Linked DNA regions of Homo sapiens: regions 1, 2 and 4 are each linked to region 3. Evidence: promoter capture Hi-C in 16 types of primary human blood cells and fetal thymus (Javierre and others, 2016). All regions are on one chromosome and are shown on one strand. Each heading gives the region's core, a stretch centred on a gene start or on the middle of the fragment in contact. The rest is flanking DNA. Distances are from core to core; before and after follow the strand shown.

Region 1 (6,837 bases), core at 3,802-6,301, 1.0 Mb after region 3:
TGTAGAATTTTTAAAAATCAACTGTATTTGTTAACAAGATAGAAGAAATAATGTGTGCTGGTTAAAAAAAAAAACCGTGTAATCATTGTGATGAGTTAAGGTTCACTTGTGAAGGAGAATTTGAATAGTTCATTTGGTTTCCTTTTTAAAACTACCATCACCTCAAGAGAAAAAATGATCCCATATAACAATTATAGAAAAACAACTACTCTAAAATTTTATTCATAATATGAACAGTTTTCCTTGTACCTTAATGAATATTAATCATTTGTTTATAGTTCTTTATCCCTTCCACGTCAACACACACAGACACCACATGCACACACACACACACACACACACACACACACACGTGCTCACTTTCTTCCTCTCTCTCTTACCATCTCCTTAATACTATATTGTGTGGGTTCTTTGTTCATGGGCAAATTATTTATTATTATTATTATTTATTTATTTTTTGCTTTCTTTTAATTTGGATACTGTTTCCAGCCTTTCCTGGACTATGTTATTGGTTTGGGAAGTGACATGGACAAACACCTGCTGACTAGGTAATTGATTTCATTGTGGTTATGTCACTTTGGGTGCTCTGAGAGTTACACTAAGCTAAATGTGCTTTCCACATTTGGTGTTGTTTTGACTTTTGGAAGTCCTGGTCCTTTATAAGCTATAATGTATGGTTAACTTTACCGACTTTGGGGTAGGAAAGGAGCGTTTGATTTTGAGGGGTGGAGAATGCTTTCCCAACAGTGGATTCTATTAAGTTCTGATTTATTTTTCCCCAGCAGAAGGAATAGAGGTGCCATGCCTGAGTGATTTAACATTCAGCTGGAGGAAATTTTGGTTGGGGGGTGTACTATCCATCCAATATTATAAGGTAACTGAAGAAGGGAAGAAGTGAAGGAGAAGTAGTAAAATGCTAGGCAGAAATTAGCCTTGTTAAGCCTAAAATTCAAACTCTTTAGCTGGTAGTTTTGGTTTTCCAGTGTATGGTCTAAGCCAGTGGTTCTCAAACTTTTTGGTCATAGGACCCCTTTACATTCTTGAATGTTATTGTGGGCTCCAAAGAGCTTTTGTTTAAATGGATTATATTTATTGGTATCAACCATCTTAGAAATAAAATGGAAAAATTTAAAACTACTGACTGTATGGAGGAAAACTCTCAAACCATGCTTTTCTTCTACTTTCACACTACAACAATCATCAACACAGAAGAAGACATTTGTGACCAAATGCGTGGGGATTTTTCCCCACACACAAAGCAGCGGACACCAGCTGAGCATCATCCAATTTGGTGCCAACACTATCTACCCAGAGATATAGCATCAGATCCCACAGGTTGAGGGCTCAGTCCCCAAGACTGACCCCCATCCCAAACACATCAGTCTCAAGTCTTGGCCTGCAGAACTTCTAACTGACCAGCTTCAAGTTGGGGTTCCCATGACTCCCCTTTGAATTTGATTAATTTGCTGAAGTGTCTCACAGAACTCAAGAAAACACTCACGTTTACCAATTTATTATAAAAGATACTACAAAGGATACAGATGAAAAGATGTGTAACGCAAGGTATGGGGGAAGGGGAATGGAGCTTCCATGCCCACCCTGGGTGTGCATCCTCCAGGAACCTCCAAGGGTTCAGCTATCTGGAACCTCTCTGAACACAGTTCTCTTGGATTTTTTTTTTTTTTTCACATGGAGTCTTGCTCTGTCATCAGGCTGGAGGGCAGTGGTGCAATCTCAGCTCATTGCAACCTCCGCCCCCCGGGTTCAAACGATTCCCCTGCCTCAGGCTTCAGAGTAGCTGGGACTACAGGTGCGTGCCACCATGCCTGGCTAATTTTTTGTATTTTAGTAGAGACAGGGTTTCACCATGTTGGTCAGGATGGTCTTGATCTCCTGACCTCATGATCTGCCTGACTCAGCCTCCCAAAGTGCTGGGATTACAGGAGTAAGCCACCATGCCTGGCCCGTCTTGGGTTTTTATGGAGGCTTCTTGAGGGCAGCATTCCTTCCCTCAGGGTATGGGGTGGACCATCTCTGGGAGGGTCTTAAGACCCACAACAGAAAGGCAGGGGAAGATTAGAGTGCTGCCTTGGGTAGGTGAAAGGAGGGCAGGAGGTCAGAAGCCTGCCCCTGAGGTCTAACACATTCCACATTATAATAAAAGACTGTAACAAAGGCTGTGGGAGTTACGAGCCAGGAACAATGGACAAAAATCAATATCTGTCATAATACCATGCTTATTAATTTATTAAAAAGAATAATGCACGTTATTAATAAAAATAGAAATAAATATATATGATAACATAAATAATATGTTTTTCAGAACAGAAATATTTAGTGAGATGAGTGGTATTGTTTTACATTCTGCAAATCCCTTTAATGTCTGGTTTAATAGAAGACAGCTGGATTCTCGTCTCTCCTTCTGCATTCAATCTGTTGTCGTATCACACATCACATAGCTTCTGGAAGACTTCACTCTATGCTCCTGAGAGAATGAGAGTGAAAAAGAAAAATAATTACTTAGTATTATTATGAAAATAATTTTGACCTCGTGGAACCCCTGGAAAGTTCCCTCAGGACTTTCCTGACCACAGTTTGAGAACTATTGGCCTACACAAATCTTTCCAGCCACACTCCTGTGTTAAGCCCTTCTGAGCCTCTTTGTATCAACACTTCAGCCTGCCCCTTTTCCCACCCCTACTCACCTATTCTCCTAGCTGCCCACAGTTCAGAGCCCAGAATCTTAAGCATTAGAGTCAAGTAGAGTCTATCCAGTACAGATATCTATTATGGGAGGGTTCTTTGGCTCAAGGTATCATGAAAATATCAAAAGGATTCATTGAGAATGAGTGAACCCACTTTCTGAAATTAAAACTATAGTTGAAGTCTTCTTATCCATGGTGATAAGGGCCAGAAGATGATTGGTTAATTGAAAAAGCACTTCAAAAGAGAGAATCATAGAAAGATTCATACATACATCAACTTTTTTTTAACTTACAATGTGTAAAATATCTATTTATTCACCAAAATTTTGGTGTAGTGCTAGGCCTTTTCTTTGAGAAAGGGTTTACTGATTGGAGTTCTCCATCCTCTTTTTTGCCTAAATCACACTCAAAATGCATCATCTACTATTTCCAATTTTGTATTTTTTTTTTTAATGGAGAAAGAAGACTACAAAGTTACTAGCAAAACAATCTAAGGACTGTAAGAACACTGGTATGTCACTTCTTTATACTATAGTTTCTTGAGGACAGAGACCATGTCATCATTTTTCTACTCTTAACACAGTGTCTAGCAATAGTTGGTATTCCCTGAGTGGCTTTTTAGTTGAATACACAGTGAGGGCATGTATCCGTGAAAGAATGAAGCAGAAGCTATACTGTATAATGAAATTATGTTCATTGTAAATAATTTCTGACCCACTATTAACACTATAGGAAGGAATACCCAAATGGACATTCTTATATTCCAAGAGGAACTGATCATTAGTGCTGAACTTCCACTTGGTCTTTGAAGAGAGTCATCACACTTTTCCAACCTCAGCATCCAGTTCCCTAAGGATACATTGAGCACAAATACTAACCAAAAGTCTGTTACTCAAAGGAGAAGCTTTCCTGGCTGCCGCCCCCTCATCTAGTGTATCATTGTATTTAGCTTTATCAAGGGCATGGTAGGATGCATTAAGCACTAAGGTTTTGGATTGTTGATATTATGTTAATATCTGTATAGACTTCGACCTTGGAGAGTGAGAGCAGGAAGTCAGCACAGGGTTGACCGTATATCCCTTACTATCATGTAACCTCCATAGGATGACCAACTCATTTCAGTTTGCCTGGAACTTTCCTGGTTTTAGCACTGAATGTCCCAAGTCCTGGTAACTCCTTCAAACTCAGGCAAACTGAGAGGGTTTGTCTTAATCCTCTACCCTAAGTCTGTGCACAGGAGCAGGGAATTCAAACTAGGGTTTGTTAGAAATGCAAATATTGGGTACATTCCTGTGGCCAAGAGTCCCTTAGTTGCCTAAAGGCAGGCAGGCAAACTTTCAAAGGGCCGAGCTTCTTGAGATTAGTCTCTTTCACTGGAATATTTTTAGTTTTGCTAAAAATCACAGTAACATTGCTCACTTAGTTTATCAATTTATCATTTAATGTGAGACGTACTTTTAACAAGATATTTAACTTATAAGATTTTTCTAGTTCCTTCTTTGCCTAATTCTGAAAATGTATATGCTTCCATTGCTTTGGAATTATGAGAGGTGTATATGGCTTTGACTGGGAGGTAAGAGCACTGCCTTAGCCTTTGCTGCCATGGTGCAGCATAGAACACACACGACTAGGAGTCAGGAGATTGGGTATGCACACCAGCTTTGCCACAAACCCAGCTATGGGGAACTTGGATAGGACCTAGCTTTGCTGAACTATGAGGTCTTTTTCTACAAAATAGGAGAAACTATAATAACATTGTCACAGATTGTTCTGAGTATTAAGAGATAACATGCAGGAAAGTGTTTGTGACATGTACAGGATTATTTAGTAAATATGTATAGATCATTGTTGATGTACCTGCATTACTCAATTGTTACTTCGCTCAATAAACTTGCTTATTGTTTTCAATGTCAATGTATTAGTCTGTTCTTGCACTGCTATAAAGAAGTACCTGGCGAGGTGTGGTGGCTCGTGTCTGGCCCAGGACTTTGGGAGGCCAAAGTGGATTGCATGAGCTCGTGAATTTGAGACCAGACTGGGAAATATGGCAAACGCTGTCTCTCTATATATATAAAAAGAAAAAAAAAGAAAAGAAAAAAATTGCTGGGCATGTTGGTGCACACCTGTAGTCCCAGCTACTCAGGAGGCTGAGGTGGGAGGATGGCTTGAGCCTGGGAGGTGAAAGTTGCAGTGAGCTGAAATCTTGCTACTGTACTCCAGCCTAGTGATAGAGCTAGACTTTGTATGGGGGGAAAAAAAAAAAGAAAAGAAAAGAAAGAAAAAAGAAATACCTGAGACTGAGTAATCTTTAAAGAAAAGAGGTTTAATTGGCTGGTGGTTCCACTGGCTGTACAGGAAGCATGGCTGGGGAGGCCTCAAGAAACTTACAATCATGGTGGAAGGCAGAGGGGAAGCAGACATGTTTTCACATGGCCCGAGAAAGAAGAAGAGAGAAGGAGGAGGTGCTACGAACTTTTAAACAACCAAATCTCCTGACAACTCACTCACAGTACCAAAGGGGAAATCTGCCCCCATGATTCAATCACCTCCCACCAGGCCCCACCTCCAACACTGGGGATTACATTTTGACATGAGATTTGGGTCTGTATATATATATATAAATATTATATATATATTATATATATATAAATATTATATATATTATATATAAATATTATATATATAATATATAAATATTATATATATAATATATATAATATATATATATGAAATATATATATAATATATTTCAAACTACTCAGCCATGTTTTGTTGGTTTATGATGTTTTCAAGTTTGACCTTTTCCAGACACTAAGGATTGTTGGTTTTGTCAGTATAGCAGTTTGAAAAATGTGAGCACTATTTAAAAAAAAATTCTCCCCTCTTGCCATCATCCTTTTTTTTTTTTTTTAGCAAAAATGTATTACATTCCTAGGTTTTGTCAGTGCTGTGGTTTGAATGTGTCCCCCAAAAGTTCATAGGTTGGAAACTTAATCCGTAATGCATCATTGTTGGGAGGTGGGGCTTAATAAGAGGTAATTGGGTCATAAGGGCAAAACCGTCACTAATGGATTAATGTATTATCATGGGAGCAGGTTAGTTATCTAGACAGTAGGTTGTTATAAAGTGAGTCTGGCCCTGGTACCTCTCTTTTGCACAGGCTCTCATGCCCTCTCGCCATGCCATACCTGCCACCATGTTATGATGCAGCAAGGAGGCCCTCACCAGATGCTGGAACCATGCTCTTGGACTTCTCAGGCTCCAGAATTGTGAGCTAAATAAACTTCATGTCTTTATAAATTACTTAGTCTTTGTATTCTCTTATAGCAACAGAAAATGGACTAAGACAACCAGGCACTGTTAATTTAATTTTTAGCAGGCAAACTCATGCATATAGCTTTAAAAATCAAATATGATCCTCACTTTGCACAGTAGTGTAGGATGGTAAAAATGACTGTTCAGAATTGAGGCCATGCAAAGTGATTTAATAACCAATGAAAAATAATAATTGTTCCATGACCATTAAATTATTTTAGTCAGAATATTACAAACTCATTACTGTCAGTGATACATGTATAGGGTAATTAGTATTTATTTAGTATATTGTAATTTAAAGCAGTGGCAACATTGAGAATTACAGTGGAGTTTTTACGATTAAAAAAACTTGAGTAGTTTGAAGATTTCTCACCTTCTATAACTTACAATATGGAGCAAACATGTTTTCTATGCTTTGGTAAACAGTCATAGTTCTTTCTAAATTTGGGTTAACTTACAGCATTTTAAGCTTTGTACATTCAAAGTCATGCATATCTCTGAGAGGTCCTTTAATGTGAAGATTTTTTGCTTGCATCACTTCCTCTGGAACATCTTCATCTTCTGTTTGCTAATTTCTACTTTTAGTTATTTATTTTTTAAATTAAATGTCATATGGGCTTATTATTGGGAGACAAGGAGGCAACAGCACTACACACTTTGCTGTCTGTGTGTGACCCAAATAAGAGATATGCAGTAACTGGTTGCCTACAGACTTTGAAAGAAGTGACATTATTAGTCATTGACCAAGATGCACATCTGTTACTTGTGTAGTGATTTGTGGACTAAAAAGCTAACAGTGAAATTTGAACTCTATAAA
Region 2 (7,049 bases), core at 714-3,213, 1.0 Mb after region 3:
AATTATTTTTTGTCTTTTGGTTACTGTTACCAGAATATACTTGTATTCTGTAGACCTGTTTCTTTGAAACAGATAATCACAGCAACCTTGACTGTCTGGAATCCTAAAGCTGACTAACCACTTAAGAAATCCTGTTACATTCTCCTTGGAGGTAGTGGTAATCTTAGTTCATTACATACATTTTAATATCAACATTTGTCTTAGTTTCCTTTACAGATGAATTTTGTTCACTTCTTAACATTGTCATTCCTGGATAGACTTGTTTTGGTCATATATATTATTCCTGAAAACTTTATTTGGCTGACCTTAAAGTTATCCTTAGTTTTCAGGAAATTTAGCCATTTCTCAGTTTAGCAGTCTGACAAGTTAGATGTAATTTATGCTTACAACTCGTTTACAATAAGGAGGTTGTTTTTAATTTGTATATTTTTATATTTCCTGAGTATGTAATCTTAGGCTTCATAATTTCTTTTGTGCCATTAACCATGTATAGATAATCAAACCTTCTTGGTGTAACATCCTTAAAGATTCTTATAAGATGCTGTTGTTTTGTAATATTTTTAAATGTGCTATCCTATTAGCACATTTATTATATATTACTAATATCCTATTAGTACACTTACTATAGTAAGATTAGCATTTACTATACAGTGACAGCTCTTCCATGACCTTTTACATCTGTTATCCCATTTAATCATCACAGCAAAACTGTGAGTAAGGCAGAGGAGGAATTACCATCCCCATTTTGTAGATAAGAGAGGATGAGTGACTTGCACGCAGTCATACATTGAGTGGGTCAAGAATGGCAATTCGTGGGGTTTTCTTTTGTATCGTTGCCATTTATTGAATAGTTCATGCTTTCCCCTCTGATTTTTTAAATAAACATTTTATTTAGAATACAGTAGTTTATGTTTACAGAAAAGTTGCACAGATAGTACAGAGAGTTCCTATATACCCCTCACTCAGTTTCCCCTAGAAAATTTGATTCTGACCTTGATTTCATGTTACTCTGCAGTAGGATTTAAATCTACGGCAGAAGGAGTTAAGAGTTTAATGAATCAAACAACAGAATGCAGGGAGTTAAGGGTTCATGCTTACAAACGATAAGGAAAGGTACTAGACTATATACAGCAGGACTTTCAACCCTTCCCTGGCCAGGCAGGCAGTAGAAACAAGATGTAAGACAATAGGGAGTCGTGGGGACAGTGGTGAACCTGAAAACAGGTGCCTAGTGTCAAGGGGCAACTACTCTTTAGTTCCTCTTTTTATTAAGCAGTTCAACTTCGGTGTTGCTTAAAGTTGCAGATTTTTAAGAGAAGTCAGCAGTTTGAATTTGTAATGGGAAATTTGTTAATTTTCAAGACACTCTTTTTGCTAAACAAAACATTTGACTCCCAGAGTCCAGAGCTGGGGATTCCTGACATTAAATGTTAATATTACTGTTCCCCTGTTAAGGCATGTGGGGACAGCCAGGGCTAAACTTATCTTTCCATTTACCTAGAGTGGTCTCTACTGGAAAGGAAATCAGGAAAAGAGTGCTCCAGGGACAGGGACTGTTACAAGCAGTAGAAGTGGGACTTTTTGCATCCAGGAAGCCCCTTTCTAATTGGTGCTTTCTGTTTTTCCAATAGACAAACCTTTTTGCAGTCACAAAGTGTGTTCCTATTGTTTTCTATGACAGTTACTTATTTAATTTCTGTAAGAGAACATATAACCAGCCAGGCGCGGTGGCTCACGCCTATAATCCCAGCACTTTGGGAGGCCGAGGCAGGTGGATCACGAGGCCAGGAGTTTAAGACCAGCCTGGCCAAGATGGTGAAACCCCTTCTCTACTAAAAATACAAAAATTAGCTGGGCACGGTGGCATGCACCTGTAATCCCAGCTACTCGGGAGGCTGAGGCAGGAGAATCACTGGAACCGGGGTGGCAGAGGTTGCAGTGAGCGGAGATCGTGCCACTGCACTCCAGCCTGGGTGATAGAGTGAGACTCTATCTCAAAAAAACAAAAAACAAAACCCATATAACCATAATTTATGAATATTTTCACACTTGATTTTTTTGCTAATGAATATCACTCAAATGTTATGTTCGTTTGTTTATTTATTTCTTATTTTTTGAGATAGAGTCTTGCTCTGTTGCCCAGGCTGGAGTACAGTGGCACGATCTCAGCTGCCTCCCAAGTAGCTGGGATTACAGCCACCTGCCACCAGGCCCAGCTAATTTTTCGTATTTTTAGTAGAGATGGGGGTTTCACCATGTTGGCCAGGCTCGTCTTGAACTCCTGACCTCAAGTGACCTGCCCTCCTCAGCCTCCCAAAGTGCTGGGATTACAGGCGTGAGCCACAGCACTCTGCCCTCAAATTTTATATTTAATACTGTTTTAGATCTAAAGCAAAGTAAATGCAACCCTTATACTTTCTGGTTATTGGTGTAGTTTTTTGTGATAACACATTTCATTTCTTAAATAATTTTTATGTCTTAACTTCTGTAATATAAGGGAATATTTTATAGTGATTATGGTTTTAAATATATTTATAGGAATTCTCTAGTTTTAACTTCTGAAGGAGTTCACAGACATAACCTTCTGTAGTTTATTTGATTGGAAAATCTTCATATTTAATTTGAATCAGAGCACTTCATGATTTAGTTGTAGTTCTCTTGTGTTATATTTCTTCGTTCATTTATTCAGCATCTATTATTTCCTTGGCATTGAGGATTCAACAGAGAACAAAAAACAGACTGAAATCTCTGCCTTCATGGAGTTTATCTTTTAGTATGGGAAGACAGATAGACGATGAAGAAAATAAATAAGTGAATCATATATTAGAAAGTATAATGCCGTGGATAAATGCCATGGAATAGGAAGTATTAGAGGTGGAGTAGTTTGCAATTGTAAAAAGGAGGGTCAAGAAGGCCTCACTAAGAAGGTGACATTTGGACAAACACCTGAAAAGGAATAGCCACTTGTATCATCTATTGGCAGAGGTTATAGCAAAAACAAAGGTCCCGAGATGAGAAGTGCCAGGTGTTTTCAAAGAGCAAGGATGCCCATGTGGCTGGAGCACAGCAGGCAAGGAGAACAGCCGAGGTCAAACAGAGCCTGTAGGGCCTTGTAGACCATGATAAGGACACATACACAAAACACACACGCCAACATCTGTCTATGCTACAGTTTCAGAGCTGTTTCTCAGTAGTCAAGTAGAAGATGCCAGTGATTGGGGATTATTTTTCATTATTAAAGTATTTTGTGCCTGTTGAAGATAAGGCTAAGGAGAAGATGAGGAGATACATTGACTGTTTCAGGAGGGATTCAGATCAGTTAAATATTGGAATGTGACTCCAGATTATCTGGTTTCCAATATAGAGTTAGACCTTTCTGTGTATTTTCATATCATGTTACTGATATCTTTATTATAGCATTCATGTTATTGTTTAGTTTGTATTGAAAATAAGTCCCAAAAGATTAGTTAATTCACGTATTCATTTTTCAGCAAAAATTTATTGGGTGATGTTGTGTTCTAGGCACTGGGTTAGGCTTTGGAGTAAGCAGTGATATACACTTAAGGATGTAGCCAATATTCTGGTGATGTATTCTAGTACAATGACAGTCACACAGATCTGCTTGGAGGTAGCATAGAGTAACCTCCTCCAGTCTATTTTGTGTGTGTCTAAAAGCAATTTAGGTAGTGCTATGCACTGAATGTTTGTGTCTCTTCCAAATCCCTATGTTGAAGCCCTAAGCTCCAATGTGATGGTATTTGGAGGTGGGGCCTTTGAGAGGTAATTAAGTTTAGATGAGGTCATGAGGGTGGGGTCCTTATAATGGGATTAGTACCCTTATAAGAAGAAATTAGAGAATTCCTCCCTTACTGCTCTCTCAGGCCCCGCCATGCAAGGATACAGCCAAGAAGGAAGCGAAGTTTGCAAGCTAAGAAATGTCTTGTTTAAGCTACCCAGTCCATGATATTTTGTTATAGTAACCCATGCTGACCAAGACAGGTAGATCAACTGGGGAGGGAAGGGACAACCATCTAACTTTCCTTTCCCCCATATTTATTGTCTCCTTTTAGTCTCATGTGACAGAATCTAAATCAGATGGTGATGAATAGCTTCAGGCATGTTTGGATCCAGCTTTTAAAAATAGTTTATCAGGAATCTGTTTTTCTTTGTTTTTTAATCCTACTCACTTTTTTACTGTTTTGTTTTTAGATATCCTCTTTCCAAGTGATGGCAAAGCTGTGCCCAACAGCAATAGCTTACATTCTTTCAGCATGAAACTCCAGCAAAAGGAACGTGCTTCTTTCCCAGGAGCTTAGAGAAAAGTTTTAAGGCTGATAATTCTTGTCACCAGTGGGACTAGCTTGGGCTATGTGCTTGATGAATATTTATTCTGTCTAGGGGAATGAATACATTGCATGAGCATTCCTGAGTTACCTGTCAGTTCCTGAAGTTTGGAAATGGAGGTGATCATATGAACCAAAATGGGAGAGTCCCCTAAATAAAAACTGGGTGCTATTATTCAGAGAAGGGGCAATGGATGCTGGGCAGGAAAAAAACAAGTGAGCACTGCATTTGGGATAGACTGGATAGACAATTTAAACAGTTATGTACTTAGACCTCCCCGCCCTTTTTTCTAGCATTTTGTGTTCAAGATTTATCTTACTAGATGGAATTAAGAATTTTCAACTAGGTCTATTCTCTCATTGGTTTTGAAAAGGCATGAGTTAATAGATTGCTTTCAATACTGTAATACCATGGCTTTCACTACTGTTTACTTTGGGAATCTTTGGTAACAGTCGTTAAGAATGAATGAACGTGCAATCTAGTTACATAGTGATGTGCCTGCTCCTTCCTTGCCATGTAGGGAGGATGGGGCTAAATATATTTGTATTCAGACTGGCTCCCTTATGAAGTTGGCCCTTTCGTAGATTTATTATGAAGTTGGAAAGCCACTAAACACACACACACACACACACACACACACACACACACACACACACACCAGTTTTGAAGTGTGAGGACTTTGTCCTCTAGCCTATTTTCAAAGTGGTTGAACTATTGTTCCCTTAGCTGTAACCAAGCATTTGAACTGTCAGGCAAAAGGTTTCTTTAAATTTGCAGAAAGCAATGAGTTACAGCGTGGGTAAACACAGATTGGAAGTGTTTCTACAACTATAACCATACAGATCACTAAATCTTCCATAATTAATGTTTGCTTTGCTTTTTCTTTTTGCTGCTGAGTAAGCATGAGATTAAGGTTTTAGCTTTATCCAGTACTGCTTAGTTATTTGTCTTTTTTTCTATTGCCATTTAACCATTAAGCATAGGATGTTCCCTTGAGTTGTTTTTTGTATTTGATTGAATTTTTCTGCTAAACTGCTTGAGCTGTTTCTGTACCAATAGAACCTGTGGGCTGAAGCTCATTACTGTATGACTTTTATAAGGAGCACAGTGCAGCCACAATTAAAGATATATTCTACCTGAACAATGGGCAAGAATATCTCTTGATGTTTAATTTTTCCTTTTGGAAAGATAATTTTTATTTTGTTAATTATGAAGATATGTTTATCATAAAGAATTTAGAAAATGTTATGGTTTTCCAAAGTCATCTATAATTTTATTACCTGGAGATAATCAGTGTTAGCATTTTGATATCTTTCCTTTCAGATCTTTCTTGTGTGTGTATATACACACACTCATACCTACACACATTTTGTTATTGTTGTTGTTTTAATGAAAATGGGACCATATAATAAGCTGTTATATCATATTTGTTTCATTTATGGCATTAAGTATCTCCCACAAGATCACAGCAGTCAGTTTTGTAAAGGTATTTAGTTTACTAACTAGTCTCATTGTTAGATCACTAGGTTATGTCTAGTTTTTCACTCTTATAAACAAGGCTGCAGTTTACATCTTTGTGCATATCAGTGATTATTTCCTTGGTATAAATGCCTCAATTTCCTAGGTCATAACATATGTACTTTTTTCTTTTTTTAGATTTTTATGGATGTATAATAATTATGCATTTTTAGGAAGGTATGCACATTTTAAGGCTTTTGATGGTTATTGGCAAAGTGCCCTCAGAAATATGCCAATTTAAGCTTTCCACAAGACTCTCTATGCTGTCCATTGCTTCACAGCATTGTCAATATTGCTGATTTAATAAGAAGAAAAATTTAATGAATACTTTCTAATTTCTTAAATAAGGTGTGTTTTCTCATGTTTTTCTCATTTGTATATATTAATGTTTTGTGAAATGCTGAGCTCGGCTTTCCTTTCTTTTCTACTGGAGTTTTAATCTTATTAATTTGTACAAGCTTTTCATGTATTTATGACAGTAATTTTTTTTTCTGTTTGTCATTTGATACTGATTGACTTGATTGATACTTTTATAGCATAAATGCTTTTTTCTTTTTACAGTCAACTCTATCTTTTCCTTAATTGGTTTGTTTTGAAATGTTTATGGAAGACATTATGTCATGCGTTGTGTTGAGAGCCTGATAGTCATTATCTCCTTCATTCCACTGTGCAACCGTGTAAGTCAGATATTGTCATCATCCCCATTTTACGGTTGAATAAACTGACTCTACAAACAGCAAATTGGGAATCAAAACCATGTAGCCTAACTCAGAGCTGGCTCCCTTGAACATTTATTTAATTCTTCTCTTGCTTGATTTTGCTCTTGGTGTCCTATTTAGGCCTTCTACCTCTAAAGATTTTGTAACCATTCACCTGTATTTTCTTTCAGTATAATTATGGTTTAATGTTTACCTAATATTTAAATGTTTTATCTCATGATCTCTGGGATCTCTTTTGTTCTGTCATCTGCAGAAACAGAATAACTGCTTGTTGCTTTTTATTCATGACTCTTTCTTTGTTTTTAGAGCTGCTGCTAAATTCCTTTCTTCCTTTTTTCCCATATTAATGCTAGTATAAGTAAGTTCAACAAACATTTTCTGGACATGTTCTTCGTGCAAGAATCTCTGCCAAGCATTGTAGGAATACAAAAGTGAGTAAGACAGAGTCTGCCTCCCCAGAAACTTGTG
Region 3 (7,102 bases), core at 3,617-6,116:
CTGGTGCGCCGGGGCAGCGGGGCTTCGGGAAGACGTCTTCGGAGCCGGGAAGACGACGCTGCTGGGCTAGGCCGCAGAGGCTCAGCCGGACTCGCTACTAGGGTTCTGTGCAACCCACGCTCTCGCCACCTCAGCATTTCCGCCCCCTCGGGGCAGGGGGACCGCCTGGACCTCGACGCCGTTCCCGGGCCGCGCTGTCCTATCTGTCCGCGCGCCACCGCCGCCCCCATAAACCAGCCTGGCGAGGGCCGCGACGGCCGCGCAGCTGATTGGAAACGACTGTTACCGTTGCACAATAACGCAGGGTCGTAAAACAAACAAACAGCAACAGGCCGCCCGCGGGGCAAGGGAGCTGGCGAGGGGCTGGAACGCAGAAGACGGCGCCTGCCCCCCAAGAACGCACGGGACCCGTCCTCCTCCACACTCCCCTGCTTCTCCCACATTGAATTACAAGGACGTCCCATTCTCAATCCAAACCCAGAGACCTCGGCCCCCTCTCGTCCACCCGGCGCCTCCCGGGCCCACACAGAGCCTGCGAGGAGTCCACTGGCTGCCCGGAGGAGGGGAAAGGTGACCCAGATTAGCCTCCGCTCCGGGCCCCCGGGGTTCCAGCGCTGCGCTCCACTGAGATAGCGGCGCCGACCGCCCGGGGCTGGGGAAAGCGGGATGCGTCCCCGGAGCCCACTAGAGGGCGCGACAGCCCCGCGAATCTTACCCGGCTCGCCAGCTAGCTCGCCCGCAGCCCAGGCTCCTGGTCCCCGACAGCGCAGCCGGGAGTGCTGCGCGCAGACTTCGCCCGGGAGGCTCTGCGCTCGGACTGTCCAGCCCCCGCCACTGTCCGGCTTCTGACCCCGGGACCCAGAGGAACACTGCGCGGTCCGCTCTCCCTCCCACCTCCACCAAGTCCTCGGCGGCTTGGTTGTCCCGGGGTTGGCGGCGATGCCCAGCCGCTCCGGGGACCTGCGCCCCTGCGCCCCTGCGCGCCGCGCTCTGAACCTCAGAGCTGCAGAGGCCGCTGCGCCCCAGGCACGACGCTCTGCGTTTGCATTGTTTTCAACTGAGACCCGAGAGGGGGCCGGGCGGGTGTGGAGAGAGGGGGGAGAGCGGGAAGAGAATCCGGGCGGGTGGGGGGAAAGGGGCCGAGGGGTTTAGGGTTACAGGAGCTCGCCAGCGCCTCCTATGGGCACGAGAGCCGCACGGCCGTGGGTAGCGGCTCACCGGGAATGCTGAGGAGAGCTAGCATGCGCCCTCTCGGCATTTAAGAACCGTTCCTGGCCGGGCGCGGTGGCTTACGCCTGTAAATCCCAGCACTTTGGGAGGCCGAGGTGGGCGGATCACCTGAGGTCAGGAGTTCGAGACCAGCATGGCCAATATGGTGAAACCCCGTCTCTACTAAAAATACAAAAATTAGCCTGGCGTGGTGGCGGGCACCTGTAATCCCAGTTACTCGGGAGGCTGAGGCAGGAGAATCGCTTGAACCTGGGAGGCAGAGGTTGCAGTGAGCCGAGATCGCACCACTGCACTTCAGCCTGGGCGACAGAGCGAGACTCTTGTCACACACACACACAAAAGTGCCTTCTGGTGCCACCTTGCCCGACACGCGCCATAGCCGCCTCTGCCCCCTCAAGAGTCCGCGCCCACCCGCGCTTGTCGCTCCCCTTTCGCGGGGGCCGAGAAACTGCAGTAGGAGGCAGGGAAGGAGGCGCCCCAAGTCGGGTTTCCCATTATTCCCTCCTACAATCTACTTTTTCAGCCCATCCCAGGTTCGCTCATTGATCAGTTTAAAACAAAAGGAAATGCCGCCGAGCCACTTCAGCAAACGACAACCATCTGGCAGAACCCGAATTAGGGGGAAGTTGGGAGAAGCCATTTGCCCCCGATCCTGCATCTTGCGCCCCAGGCGAGACCGAAAGATTATCTGCCGCCCCAAGGCTGATGCTGCGGTTGGACCCGGCGAGTTAGACCCGGGGAACCCTGAGACCCACACCTTTCGGTCACCGATCCGGCTTTTAGCTCTTTTCCTAGAATTGTCACTTTTCCACCAGCAACGTATAACCTGGTCGCAGCTCCCCGGAGGTCAAAGGGAGTACTTCCCTGTGGGGTCTGCAGGAAGGCGCTGGCCACCACGTCCCCAAAACGCGTCCCGCCGCTGCGCGCCGCCCACGGTCCGTCCCCAGGAGGCACAAAATGGGCCCGCCTCGGCGCCAGACGTGTTTGCAGCTGGAAAGCCCGGCCCAATGCCCCTCCCCCTGCATCCCTCCTCAGTCCGCGTCCCGAGAGGAAACTGGCCCAGGGGCGCAGAGCTGGGAGCCTGGGATCTCCTTCAAGTCCTTCTCGATCTAAGGATTTAAACAAGAGCCAGGGCACCGGGGGCTAACGACGGGTTCATTCTTGGCTTCCCCTCACTCTTGTGAACGAGGTCCAGCTGCACTTGGGTCAACCCAAAACTGCAAGCTCCGAAGCAGGGCCTGACCAGGGCGTCAAAGCGAGCCTGGTCGGCCTTGCGCCTGTCGGGGAGTCGAGGCAGGGCCTCCTCATCTTGAGGGTTGTGGAAAGGAGGAGGCCGAGGAGAAAGGGAGAAGAGGGGATGCAATTCAGCAGTGCCGGGGTCCAGGTTGACCAGATTAGGGGTCGGGGATGGGACAGCGCGGCGGCTGGGGAGGTGCGCACGCCCGGAGAGCCCCTTCCTCCCCTCCTGTGGCTCCGGGGATGTTTGTCCGGTGAGATGCACTGCGGAGGACTGTCGTGCGTTTGCCCTGGATGCTCCCTGCTCCAAAAATCTGTCTAGTTCTTGTCAGGAGCGACCGCGGCGAGGCGAGTCGGTCCAAAACATTGAGCAATTTGGCCTCGGAGCCAAAAAGCCATTTCCCACACCGCCCAGCCCGCGGCTTTTCGGACGCGGGGCGGTAGGGACCTGATATGGGCCCCATCCATGCTTGCCTCCCACCCAGGAAGATGGAGTGAGTGGCAAGTTCTTCCAGGCACTCCTTGCGCACATCCTGAGGTCTTAGCACAATTCGGGGAGCGAAGTGCGGGACCGGCGCTCTGGCTGCGGGAGGGATGCACAACGCACAGCCTGCCAGGCCAGCAAGTCCTTCCCGACCAAGACGCGAGGCCAGGCCATCGGCAGCTCTCGCACACCTGGCCCGGCCCAGGCTCCTGGCTCCCTCTGGCAACGTACTCGGGTTGGGCCACACTCGTCGCTCCGACCTGGCCGACACCCTCCCGGAATAGAACAGCTGATCCCACATATTCAATGCCAAATGGACGCCGCCCGCTCCCTGGGCGCAGCCGGGCGGAGTTAATTTCGTGTGTAAATCTGGTTTCCATGGGGGTAGACAGCAGAGGAAGGAGAAGTACGCACAGACGGCTCTGAAGCCGGCAGGGAGAGGAATGGAAAAAAGGCCAACTAGAGAGGACCGAGCAGCGCTGGGCGAGCTCAGACGGCAAGTGCCACGCACCCCCGCGCGGAGAAGGGTGCCGGGTAGGGGGTGTCCAGGGCTCGGGTGCCCGGAGGGAGAATATGGTTTACCTCCCACCTTTCTGTCTTACCTGCAAACAAGTTTCCCCAGTTCCAAGTCGTCCCTAACTTCCTCACAAGAAGTTCGGCACCTTCCTGGAGACCTTTCCTCTCTTCCTGCCTGCGGCCAGAACTGAGCGAAAGCAGAGCCCCCGGGCAATGCAGAAATGATTCCACCGAGGAGGGGGCGCGGGAAGACAGGCGGGGGCGGGGGCCACGGAGCACAATGAGGGCCCCTTGGTGTGCGGTTCGAAATTCCTCAAATCCCAGTTGCTGGAATGCGAGGCGACGACGACTTCTTCACTCAGGGCCAAATGTGTTTGTCATTATTCCAGACCGCCCGCCCGCGCCGCCGCTGTCGCCCCCGCGCTAGGGCGTGCAACCCGAGCACACTGCCCGGCAGGCACCCGCTCTCCCTGGCACCTCACTGACCCAACAAACCGCTCCAGAGCGCCCCAAACCCTTGCCCACGCCCGCGCGCCTCTGCTTGTCCCGCAGCCGCCTCACCGCCGCGCCAAATCTGGCCCCGACTCTCTCCCAGAGCAGCGCCGTCCAGTAATCACGCGCATTCGGCCGGCTCCCTGTGCTGTAGGCCAACACCGAGGTCCGGTCTCCAGCCGAGCCCAGCCCGCCTCCTGCGCCCCGCAACCCCTTCGCGCGCCCCCCTCCACGCTCCCCTCCACGCTCCCCTCTCCCCACCTCCCCCTGGTCCCCCAGCCGCGCTCCACACCATGGGCTGCAGCGCTGTCCCGCCAAACCGCAGGCGAGGAATGAAAACACTCATTTAAAACCTGTCGCCTTCCAGGACCCACTGCCAAGAAGAGGGCAAACACCTCTGCCTCCACCCCCAGTTCCTTGGTGTTCGGCCCAGTATTCACGAACACCACCCCCACTCCCAAAAGAAACCTCAAAAATGTAAGCCTAAACAATTTCTTTGGGAGGCCATAGGGTTGTTAGAAAAACATTGTTTTTAAAAATAGGTCTGGAAAATGTGTGTTTAAAAAAAATACCTAGACTTTCTAACTCTATGGTTATCTCCCACCCGTCCCCAAGTGAAGTTTATTCCGAAAAAAAAAAATTACTCTCTGGACACACAACTGGAATCCAGCTCCTTTTTTTTTTTCTTGTCGCCCAAAGTTTGAAGTTACTTCGCTTTCTCCAGTCCCAGAGTCTGATCAGGGACTTCCCTTATAAACAAAAAATCATTTTTTCTTTTCCCTTACCTTCTCCTCCGATGTTATTCCGCAATGAATGTCCCACACATGGAGTAAAGAGCGTGCCCACGGCCTCCAATGATCTCTTGCAGTCTCCTCCTCTGTTTCTCTCCCTGTAGCTCCAACAGTAATGGGCTCAAAAACCGCGTTTTGTAATTGATTCAATGTTATAGTCCATCCTTCTAAAACTAATCATTTGCTCTAAGTAAATAGCTGTCAGGAAATAAGCCCCCCCTCAACCTTGGTCTCTTCAAAATAAAAGTTTCTCTCAAACTCCCTGCGCTCCGAATCTCCCAGTGTCCAGATTGCGCCTTCGCTTTTTGCTCTTACGCAATCAGGGGGTCCAGTCCCAACCCCCAGACTTCGACAACAACTGGGGGGCGGGGAGAAGCAGACCAGATGGGATGGGGGGTGGTGGAAGGGGGAGGTGTTGGTGCTCTGCCGGGAAAGAGGTTTTGTGAAACTACAAACAGCCCATCATTTCCAGAATGAGTTTGCCTCCCCATTTTGGGGTTATTTTCTTAGACTGCTATAGTTTTGTATTCTCTTTGAAAAGAAGAAAAGGAACATACAAAATTGCATTTAATACCCAGAGAGAATATAAATCTAGAATCAAGAAATGTCCCTTCTACAAACTCGGCCCAACGAGAAATAGGGCCCTCGGGAGAAATCTCCAAGCGGTTGCGCCGTTTTGAACTAGGGGTCTTTTAGGGGAAGGGCTATATAGTTGCTAGTTATTTAATAGGATTGGGCAAACTGTTGAGTCCAATATGACAATGATGGGTTTTTGTTTTGTGTGGTGTGTGTGTGTGTACAAGACTGGGTGGTCTGAAATACGGTACAAAGAAAAGAGGGTCTGTGTAGGTTTGGAACGTTCTCCGATAGAACGACCTTTACTCCCTTGAAGTCACTTATCTGGTCGTGCCTTTGTTTTCGGGGTTATCTGGGCGAGGTTGCCCTGGCTTCTATCTCGCATACAAAAAAAGCTCAAGCTTGGGCGTTTGAGGAATCGTACCACCGCCTCCGCGTCGTGGGGGAGGATGCCTTTTGATTCTCCCTCCGTTCCCTCCCGCCGCGTGGGTCGAACCCTACGAATTCCTTGGAATTGACAGCTGAGCCCCAAACCCTGCGCCCAAGGCGAGAGGCCAGTGTCGGGAGGAAACGATCCTGCCGGCGAGGGAAAGGGGGCGCTGATGCTCCAGGAACCAGACCTGGGCAGAGTGGGGCTTCCCAGCGACAGCGGGGGAGGGGAGCGCGTTCACCTTCATCGCTCTCTGATTTTTGAATTCTCCTGTTGGGGTTGGGGGTCATCCTTCATCCTTCTCCCTCAACCCCACCCCAACACACGCACTCTGAAAATGGCCAAAGTGGCCAGGTTGGGACTGGCATGTCCAACAGCCGTCTCCTCCTTCACCAGGAGGGTGGACACAGTGCAGTGGACAGGGGAGAGTCACAGAGAAGTACTCCAACGGGCGCGGTGCTGTGCCTAACCAGGACAGGATCTTGGGATGTCAGCCTCGAAAACAGGGCGCCTGGGGCTGCGCTGGGGGTCCCATTGCCGCAGTTCTTCTACGCGACCCGCTCTCGTGCATCTTCAGCTTGGGTGACTGCACCGCTCGCTATTACTTCCACATGTCCCTTCAGGAAATCATTGAAGGCAAATATATGAACAGCCCCTTGTTCGGAATGCTAACAGGATACCGTAATGTTTGTAGAAAATGAGCGGGAACAAACGATCCCCCCAAAAATCAGAGTGCGGAATAAAAGGCAAAAGCGGGTGCTGGGCCACATGCTGTTAAGTTGAGAACCGGGTTTTTAGGCTAGTTGCCCCAGAGGGTAGGAGGCGAGACAGACAGCCTACCCAGAGGGGCTGCTTTGCTTCGGCGACACTGTTAGTCCGGTCAAGCCAGGGTCTTCCGTCCGCAGGGCCCCAGCGCTCTCCGCCCACAAATGGTAACTTCACAGTTCATTTCAGAGCCGTTTAATGGGGCCCGAGAAGCAGTCCGGGCGGGAGTGTCTCCAGGCAGCGACTCCTCGGGAGTTTAAAGCAGAAAGCAATGGATGAGCAAGCGAGCACCCAGTTGTCCTTCTGGTAGTAATTACCTGCCTAATTTGAATGATGCCTTTGTTATGATCATTAACAAACATTTGCTAAAGGTTTCCATGTGTGACATTCTGGAAGGTTTAAAGGCCTGAGGAGCTGACTCCAGGGATAGTGCCCCGGTGGGGGGTGGCGCAAGAAAGCAAATGGTTGGGGGAAAATTTTGCGGAGAGACTGTGCAAAGAAGAGAGGTCAACATCTGCCTCCTCTGCAAAAGCAAAATAAACCCAGTGGTCAGGAGCAACCTCCGGACAGGAGGCCCTCGAA
Region 4 (7,116 bases), core at 2,778-5,277, 1.0 Mb after region 3:
ATTCTGTGTAGAAAGTCATTGGTAGCTTGATGGGGATGGCATTGAATCTGTAAATTACCTTGGGCAGTATGGCCATTTTCACGATATTGATTCTTCCTAGCCATGAGCATGGGATGTTCTTCCATTTGTTTGTATCCTCTTTTATTTCATTGAGCAGTGGTTTGTAGTTCTCCTTGAAGAGGTCCTTCACATCCCTTGTAAGGTGGATTCCTAGGTTTTTTATTCTCTTTGAAGCAATTGTGAATGGGAGTTCACTCATGATTTGGCTCTCTGTTTGTCTGTTATTGGTGTATAAGAATGCTTGTGATTTTTGCACATTGATTTTGTATCCTGAGACTTTGCTGAAGTTGCCTATCAGCTGAAGAAGATTTTGGGCTGAGATGATGGGTTTTCTAGATATACAATCATGTCATCTGCAAACAGGGACAATTTGAATTCCTCTTTTCCTAATTGAATGCCCTTTATTTCCTTCTCCTGCCTGATTGCCCTGACCAGAACTTCCAACACTATGTTGAATAGGAGTGGTGAGAGAGGGCATCCCTGTCTTGTGCCAGTTTTCAAAGGGAATGCTTCCAGTTTTTGCCCATTCAGTATGATATTGGCTGTGGGTTTGTCATAAATAGCTCTTATTATTTTGAGATACGTCCCATTAATACCTAATTTATTGAGAGTTTTTAGCATGAAGTGTTGTTGAATTTTGTCAAAGCATATCTTATTTCAATATCTGAGATATAGAAAATATCTTAACGTTTGTATCTATTTTATCTTCATCAAACTCATAAAAGAGGTAATGTTATTGTTGAAGCAACAGAAGACAACAAGTTTAAGTGACAACTTGTACATAAGGGTTTTTGCCAAGAGTCGTAGAAGAAGGATGACTATAGCTGCTCATGTCTCTAACTTGGTCTAATGTTGTCAGAAATGTATCAATCTTGCCAGAAACCCTTATCACTTTTGTTTCACCACACCACTCCCATTTTTACCCTGTTCTTTGTAAAATCATCCTGAAGTCTTTACAAGATGTTTGTACTGAAATTATGAGATAGTTGATCCCCACTACCACCCCATCTACCACCATTGAGCTCTTGCCCAGTGACAAGAACTAGGCTTAAATGCTTCATATGCATTGTCTTATTCAAACCTTACAGTTCTAGGAACTATCCTTGTTCCTGTTTTACAGAGGAAGGAACAGAAGCTTAGAGAAGTTAAGTATTTACCTAGGTTACATAGTTTATAAGTGGTGGAGCCTGGATTCAATCCTGTCTCTGCCTGACTCCAAAGTCTGTGCTTTCAATAACTCTACCACACTACATTGAAGAGCTTATTTGAAAATATAAATTAAAAAATGTAATTGTCAAACTGCACTTCTAGTATGAGAAGTGCAGCTCTGCCTGTTTATAAGCAAATCATCTGTACATACATTTATCAGAAAATACAAATAAAGTCAGATTCATAATTTTTGATTTTTTGCAGAAATAATTCCTTATTTTTGTTTTATGAATAAATATATACCCTGGAATTTCGTTTGGAGCACTCCCCTCCAGTATTTGTAGTTCATCTTATTTGCCATTTTCCAGCCATATATTATGACTGATGGGTGAATCATATTGGAATAAAGGGTTTAGACTTCCCAGTGCTCAGCCCCAAAGGTGAAGGTATTCTGCTGTAGTGAGGCTTGATCCAAACAACAAATATAGTTTTTAAATTCATGCAAAGACTTTGTATTGTTGTTTGCATTTACTTCAAAATCTTAGCCGTTTTTATACCAAGATTCTCATTTTTGGAAGAACTTTAGCGTCATCTTTACAAGAATCCCCTCTATGGCACACCCTTCTATAGATGGCTTATATGGGTTTATTTAAGATCTAAATTTCTTTGTGAACATTGGCTACACAGGAGAATTTCACTGTTTGCTGTGACAGGAAAAATCATCAAGGAAATTGCCATTTTTTTCCTCTTTAAAATTTATTTTCACATCTCTCATATACAATGTCCTTTTCTCACATTATACTTAATTTTGTCACCTTTCTATGGCTGAAATTATAATTGGTGTCCTTTTATAGAAAATTGTAGAGTGGTGATAGGAAGGATTTTCATCACTGAAGAAGGTCAGGTGATGCTCAGATAAGAGGCCAGAGGAGACGCTTACAGAGGTCACACATACTGGCCATCTTTCCATCTGTCAGCCACATGCTCCATCTTCTTTCGCAGGAAGACAGCATGACAGGAAAGGATGAGAAGGTCCAGGACATCCTCAACAGCAAGGAGTTTGCTGAAATGCACCTCATTAGGGATACCTTTTTTAGATCGGGGTAAATAACCCACAGAAAAAATGTAATCCCCTGATAACTGTACAAGAGTGTTAAAAATAATTTAGTTAGTGATAGACAGGTTTTTGAGGGTTGGTTGGTTTCTGGTTAAGGAGGCAGCCACAGTGATCTTCTCTTTTACTGGGTCATTTCTTTACCTATATGTGTTACCTCATCCTTCAAGTCCAAGTAAGCTGCCTTTTTTTGGTGCTGCCCATCCTCTTGCACTGATCACCCTAATTTAAATAATTCAATTAATTTAAATATTGCCTAACTTATCAGTCTCCTTAGCTCTCTGAAGGCAGGGATCCCATGTTTTGTTTATTGTTATTTTTCCACCTGGCAGATAGTACGTGTTCATTAAAAATTTCCTCTCAATTTATTTTATGAACTTCATTGCTCATCAGAATGTTAGTGAAAAATTTTTTAAATAATTTGATTAAGTTATTCTTGAAAACAGCCAAAAAAGCCTAAAAAACAGTAATGTTGGGAAAAAGACTTGTGTCAGCCCATATGATAATACTTATCAATATTATATATCAATATATATCAATTATACATCAATAATGTTTATCAGTATTTTCTAGTAGTCTTTTTGGGTTTTGGTCCTTACATTTTAATTCAGCAATTAGTCCCCTCCCCCCCATAAAAATAATTACCAATAATGTTGTATTGCTGCAAGATAGTTTAGGAACAGATGCAAGAGTATTTTAGTGACTTTTTTATTTGTTAAAGGCAGTATCACAAACCAGTGGGAAAAGAAATAATATTTAATATGTGGCTAAGAACAATTGATGAGGGGAGTGATTATTGCTATATTAAAAGATAAATTAGAAATCCAAAACCAGCCTGGTTGCAGTGGCTCATATCTGTAATCCCAGCACTTCGGGAGGCCAAGGCAGGATGATCTCTTGAGGCTTGGAGGTTGAGACCAATCTGGGCAATACAGCGAGATCAAATTTCTATACTGTTAAATTTAAAAAAATTAAAAATACCCCAAATAACAAGTAAACTACCGGAAAATATTGGTAAACATTGAGTTTATTTTGGAATAGGGAAAAACCTAAAAGCCATGACATTAATCACAAAGGGGGAAAGCCACCAAATTTGATAATAGTATGGCTTAGTGGTTTAGAGAAAGGACCTTAAGATTAGAGGGTTCTAGAACTAAATGCTGCTGATACTTACTGAGTGATCTTGGTAGAAATTATCTACCTCATTAAGGCACAGTTTCCTCATTTGCAAACTAGAGGGGATAATCATAATAGCAAATTCATTAAGTCTTTAGAATACAAAAATTTATGTCAGGTAGTCGCCCTTTGGCAATAACATAGAAAACACAACAAATTTTAGCCATTATTATTAGCTCTAAAAATTTTATATAGGGTGTTATCAACTCACCTTGATAAAAGCAAACAAAATAGGAAAAGTATTTGCCATAAGACAAAGATTGATGTATATTACATGTGAAGAATTTGTTCATATGGATAAGGAAAACATCATTCAACAGAAAAAATGATTTTTAAAATGTGGCCAGCCATTTTACAGATGAGGAAATAATAGTGGCTAATAAGCATATGAAAAAAATGTTCAGTTTTCCTAGTAATAAAAAACCCCAAACAATGCTGAGATGTAATTTACCACTTAAAATTATCAAAGATTATCAAATAATAATTAGTGTTGGGTAGAGCTCAGTAACATGTTCATTCAGAAACATTACTATTGGAAGAGTGAATTTTGTCAAAGCACTTTGGCAATAAACCTTGAAAAGGTTTATATTTTTTATGGTAATTTCATTTCAGATTAAGATAATTAAGAATATAATCAAATATGGTGATATGATTTATGTTGTAATATTTTCCTTATGGTTTTTATTTATAATAATGACAAATTAGGAACAACCTAGATGTTTTACAGTGAGATTGATGGAATGCATGTTATAGTTGTTAAAAATTAAGTTATTGAAGAATATTTTTAATGAGGTGTGGAAATGTTATTCATGTAATGTTAATAGAAGAGAGTTTATTCTCATGAAAAACAAAACTACATATATACCATGAAGCTAACTCTGTTAAATAATAAAAAAAGGTGAAGAAAGTAGAGGGAGATTAGATATATAAAGTAGAAGAAATACTGGAAAATACATCACAATTATTATCATAGTTTTCTAAGTAGTAGGTTTTTCAGTTATCTATTGCTGCATAGCAAATTACCCCAAAACTTAGTGGCTTAAAGCCAGCATTTTATTAGAGCTCACAGTTTGTGGGGGAGGAATTCAGGCAGAGCTGAGCTGAGCAATTCTTTGGCTCTACATGGCATCTACTAAGGTTATTTGGGGGCTATTCAGCTTGTAGAGAGATGATCCAAGATGGCTTCAGTCATATATCTGGGCTTTGTAGGGACTAGGTAGAAGGATGGACTCAGCTGCAGTGCCTACGCATGGCCTCTCCATCATGGCAATCTCAGGGTATTCAGACTTCTTACACAGAAGTTAAGGTATCCAGAGAAATTGTTCTGCGGGAACTGGCAGAAAATGTAAGACTCTTTTTTTTTTTTTTTTGAGACGGAGTCTTGCTCTGTTGCCCAGGCTGGAGTGCAGTGGGGTGATCTCGGCTCACTGCAACCTCTGCCTCCCAGGTTCAAGCGATCCTCCTACCTTAGCCTCCTGAGTAGCTTGGATTACAGGCACATGCCACCACGCCTGGGTAATTTTTGTATTTTTAGTAGACATGGGGTTTTACCATGTTGGTTAGGCTGGTCTCGAGCTCCTGACCTCATGATCCACCCGCCTCGGCCTCCCAAAGTGTTGGGATTACAGGCGTGAATCACTGCGCCCAGCCAAATGTAAGACTTTTTATCACCTAGCCTTGAAAGTTCCAGAAAGTAATTGACTAGCTAGAATGAAGGAACTTAATTGACTAGCCCAGAATGAAGGGAAAAGAATTAGACTGCACCTCCCAAGGGGAGGAGAAGCAAAGAATTTATGACCATCTTTATCTTCTCTCAGGTGGATTGTGAGATTCTTATTTTCTTTGTGTTTCGTAGTATCTATAATGCAGAAGTATTATTTTTGTAATTTGTAAGAGCTTTTTATATATTAAGTTTATAACCTTCCATGAGATTTGCATAAAGTAGTTAACATTGTGTCTGGCATAAATAGAGCTCTCTATAAATGTCAACTGCCATCAGTATTGTCTTTAGTTCTTTTATGTTAGAAAAGAAACACATTGGTGGACTTATTTGCGGTGGCTCATTTTAAAAGGCATTAAAAAGTCATAATTGCATCTAGGCAAGCCAAACGAGATTTCCATGAGAAAATGTTCCGTGAGACTATGTTTTGAAGGATGAAAGGGAATTGCCGGTTAGGGAAGGACGGGAAAGACATGCAAGACAATGGGAACTGTATATGCAAAGACACAGAGTTCTGATAGCGCATAGCATGTTGCAGGATCTCACATGGCAGGGTGTGACTGTAAGGCATGTGTTTGTGGAAAAAGGGCTGACACCTGGAGGGGAAGAATTACATTCCAGAGATAACCAAGAAACAGAATATACAGGTCCTAGTGACTGATGAACTATAACAGTTCCTTCAGAGTTACAGCAAACAAAATTTAACTTTTCACTAGTTAAAGCAATCTTACTATCTGTTCCTGATTTAGTTTTCTTTCTTTAAACCTCAACATGAATTATATGCGAAAAGGACAGAATTCAGACTAAGTAATAAATTACATATGGGTAAATTTCCTTTCAAACTAAAAAAAGAGAAGAATTGGAGAAAATGACAGGCCAAGCCATATTTTTAGTTTAAAAATAAAATGATTTATATATTTTTTTCAGAAAGCCAATAGAACTGAACATTTGTCCATCATCTCAGAATGGGTGCTCCTGCCTGTTGAGCTTATTAGCTCCATTCTTACTGTCCCAGGGCTCTCGTGTTTGTGTGCCATATGGGTTCCACATCTGGTGACCAGTCCGTGCTCTTTTGGGGGAAAGAAAACAAAACTTCCTTGGAGGGACTACAGAAATACGTTTCTGTAGAATCTGCTACTGCCTATGCCTGCAAATATCTGGGTACCAAATTAAATGCATAAAGCTGAAGTTATATTACTTTTCAAAGATAACAGTAACCAGATAGGACACAATACAAATTAGGGCTTTAAACATTGTGGTACCAGTTCTTTCTTCTGGCATATTATTTGCAGTGATATCCCTTTGATGTTTTGACATATCTCTGAAATCATGATTAAATATGGTAACCAGAACTAGAATTGACTTACTCTGGGCAAGTCATTTGGAATCAATATTATAGTGAAAAAAAAAATGCTATTTGGAGTAGTTCTTCCAATTGCAATGAATTTAATTGGTGTTGAAGTCCCGTCTTGTTTTCCCTAGAACTGTCATTAAAATAGTTATCATGATAAACCAATAAAAATTTCAAATAAAAAGTAAGTTCAGGATATTATTAGCAAATATTTATCACTTAATGTTTTCTAAATTTATCATGCACAGATATCCACTGTCCCATGGATAAAAATGACAGTTAAGCTTTTGCAGTCATGTAAAAATAATTACTTCTATCAAAGCTTCAAGCTTCAGGAAGAATGTCAGAGCACATACATGTATAGTGGTTTTCTCCAGGTTAAATACTATGATGGTGACACACCAGGATTCCGTGTTTCAAAACCAAGATTTTTATTCTCTTCTTAAGTCATTGAGTCATTGCTGCTTCTCTCACTGTTTTAGAACATGATTAAAATTTGTACTGTTTTCTTGTGTTAGAAAAACAAAGGTGAGGGTGGGCGGGTGA

Evidence for each region. Contacts are between HindIII fragments. The CHiCAGO score rates a contact against its expected background, and 5 or more counts as called.
Region 1: a contact is called between a fragment that was not itself captured here and the fragment with the promoter of PDGFRA in region 3, in 2 of 17 cell types (erythroblasts and naive CD4 T cells). The highest score is 6.9, in erythroblasts.
Region 2: a contact is called between a fragment that was not itself captured here and the fragment with the promoter of PDGFRA in region 3, in 17 of 17 cell types (naive CD4 T cells, total CD4 T cells, total B cells and 14 more). The highest score is 19.0, in naive CD4 T cells.
Region 4: a fragment that was not itself captured here is called in contact with the fragment with the promoter of PDGFRA in region 3 in 1 of 17 cell types (erythroblasts); the score reaches 5.1 in erythroblasts.

Annotation. Positions count from the first base shown.
Region 1 is chr4:53,206,091-53,212,927 of GRCh38, reverse strand. The region is part of intron 4 of SCFD2 (sec1 family domain containing 2); the gene reads left to right. Among named protein-coding and RNA genes, the nearest start is that of SCFD2, 160 kb to the left of the region's middle. The HindIII fragment of the contact is 2,880 bases long and covers 3,612-6,491 here.
Region 2 is chr4:53,186,372-53,193,420 of GRCh38, reverse strand. All of the region lies in intron 4 of SCFD2 (sec1 family domain containing 2), which reads left to right. Among named protein-coding and RNA genes, the nearest start is that of SCFD2, 180 kb to the left of the region's middle. The HindIII fragment of the contact is 8,287 bases long and covers 1-6,106 here.
Region 3 is chr4:54,227,057-54,234,158 of GRCh38, reverse strand. PDGFRA (platelet derived growth factor receptor alpha) reads right to left here and starts at 4,866. Exons shown (of 23, transcript NM_006206.6): 1 at 4,744-4,866. RefSeq lists enhancers at 356-475, 286-836, 5,568-6,393 and a silencer at 696-805. The HindIII fragment of the contact is 8,996 bases long and covers 1-5,728 here.
Region 4 is chr4:53,222,142-53,229,257 of GRCh38, reverse strand. The region is part of intron 4 of SCFD2 (sec1 family domain containing 2); the gene reads left to right. Among named protein-coding and RNA genes, the nearest start is that of SCFD2, 140 kb to the left of the region's middle. The HindIII fragment of the contact is 5,659 bases long and covers 1,198-6,856 here.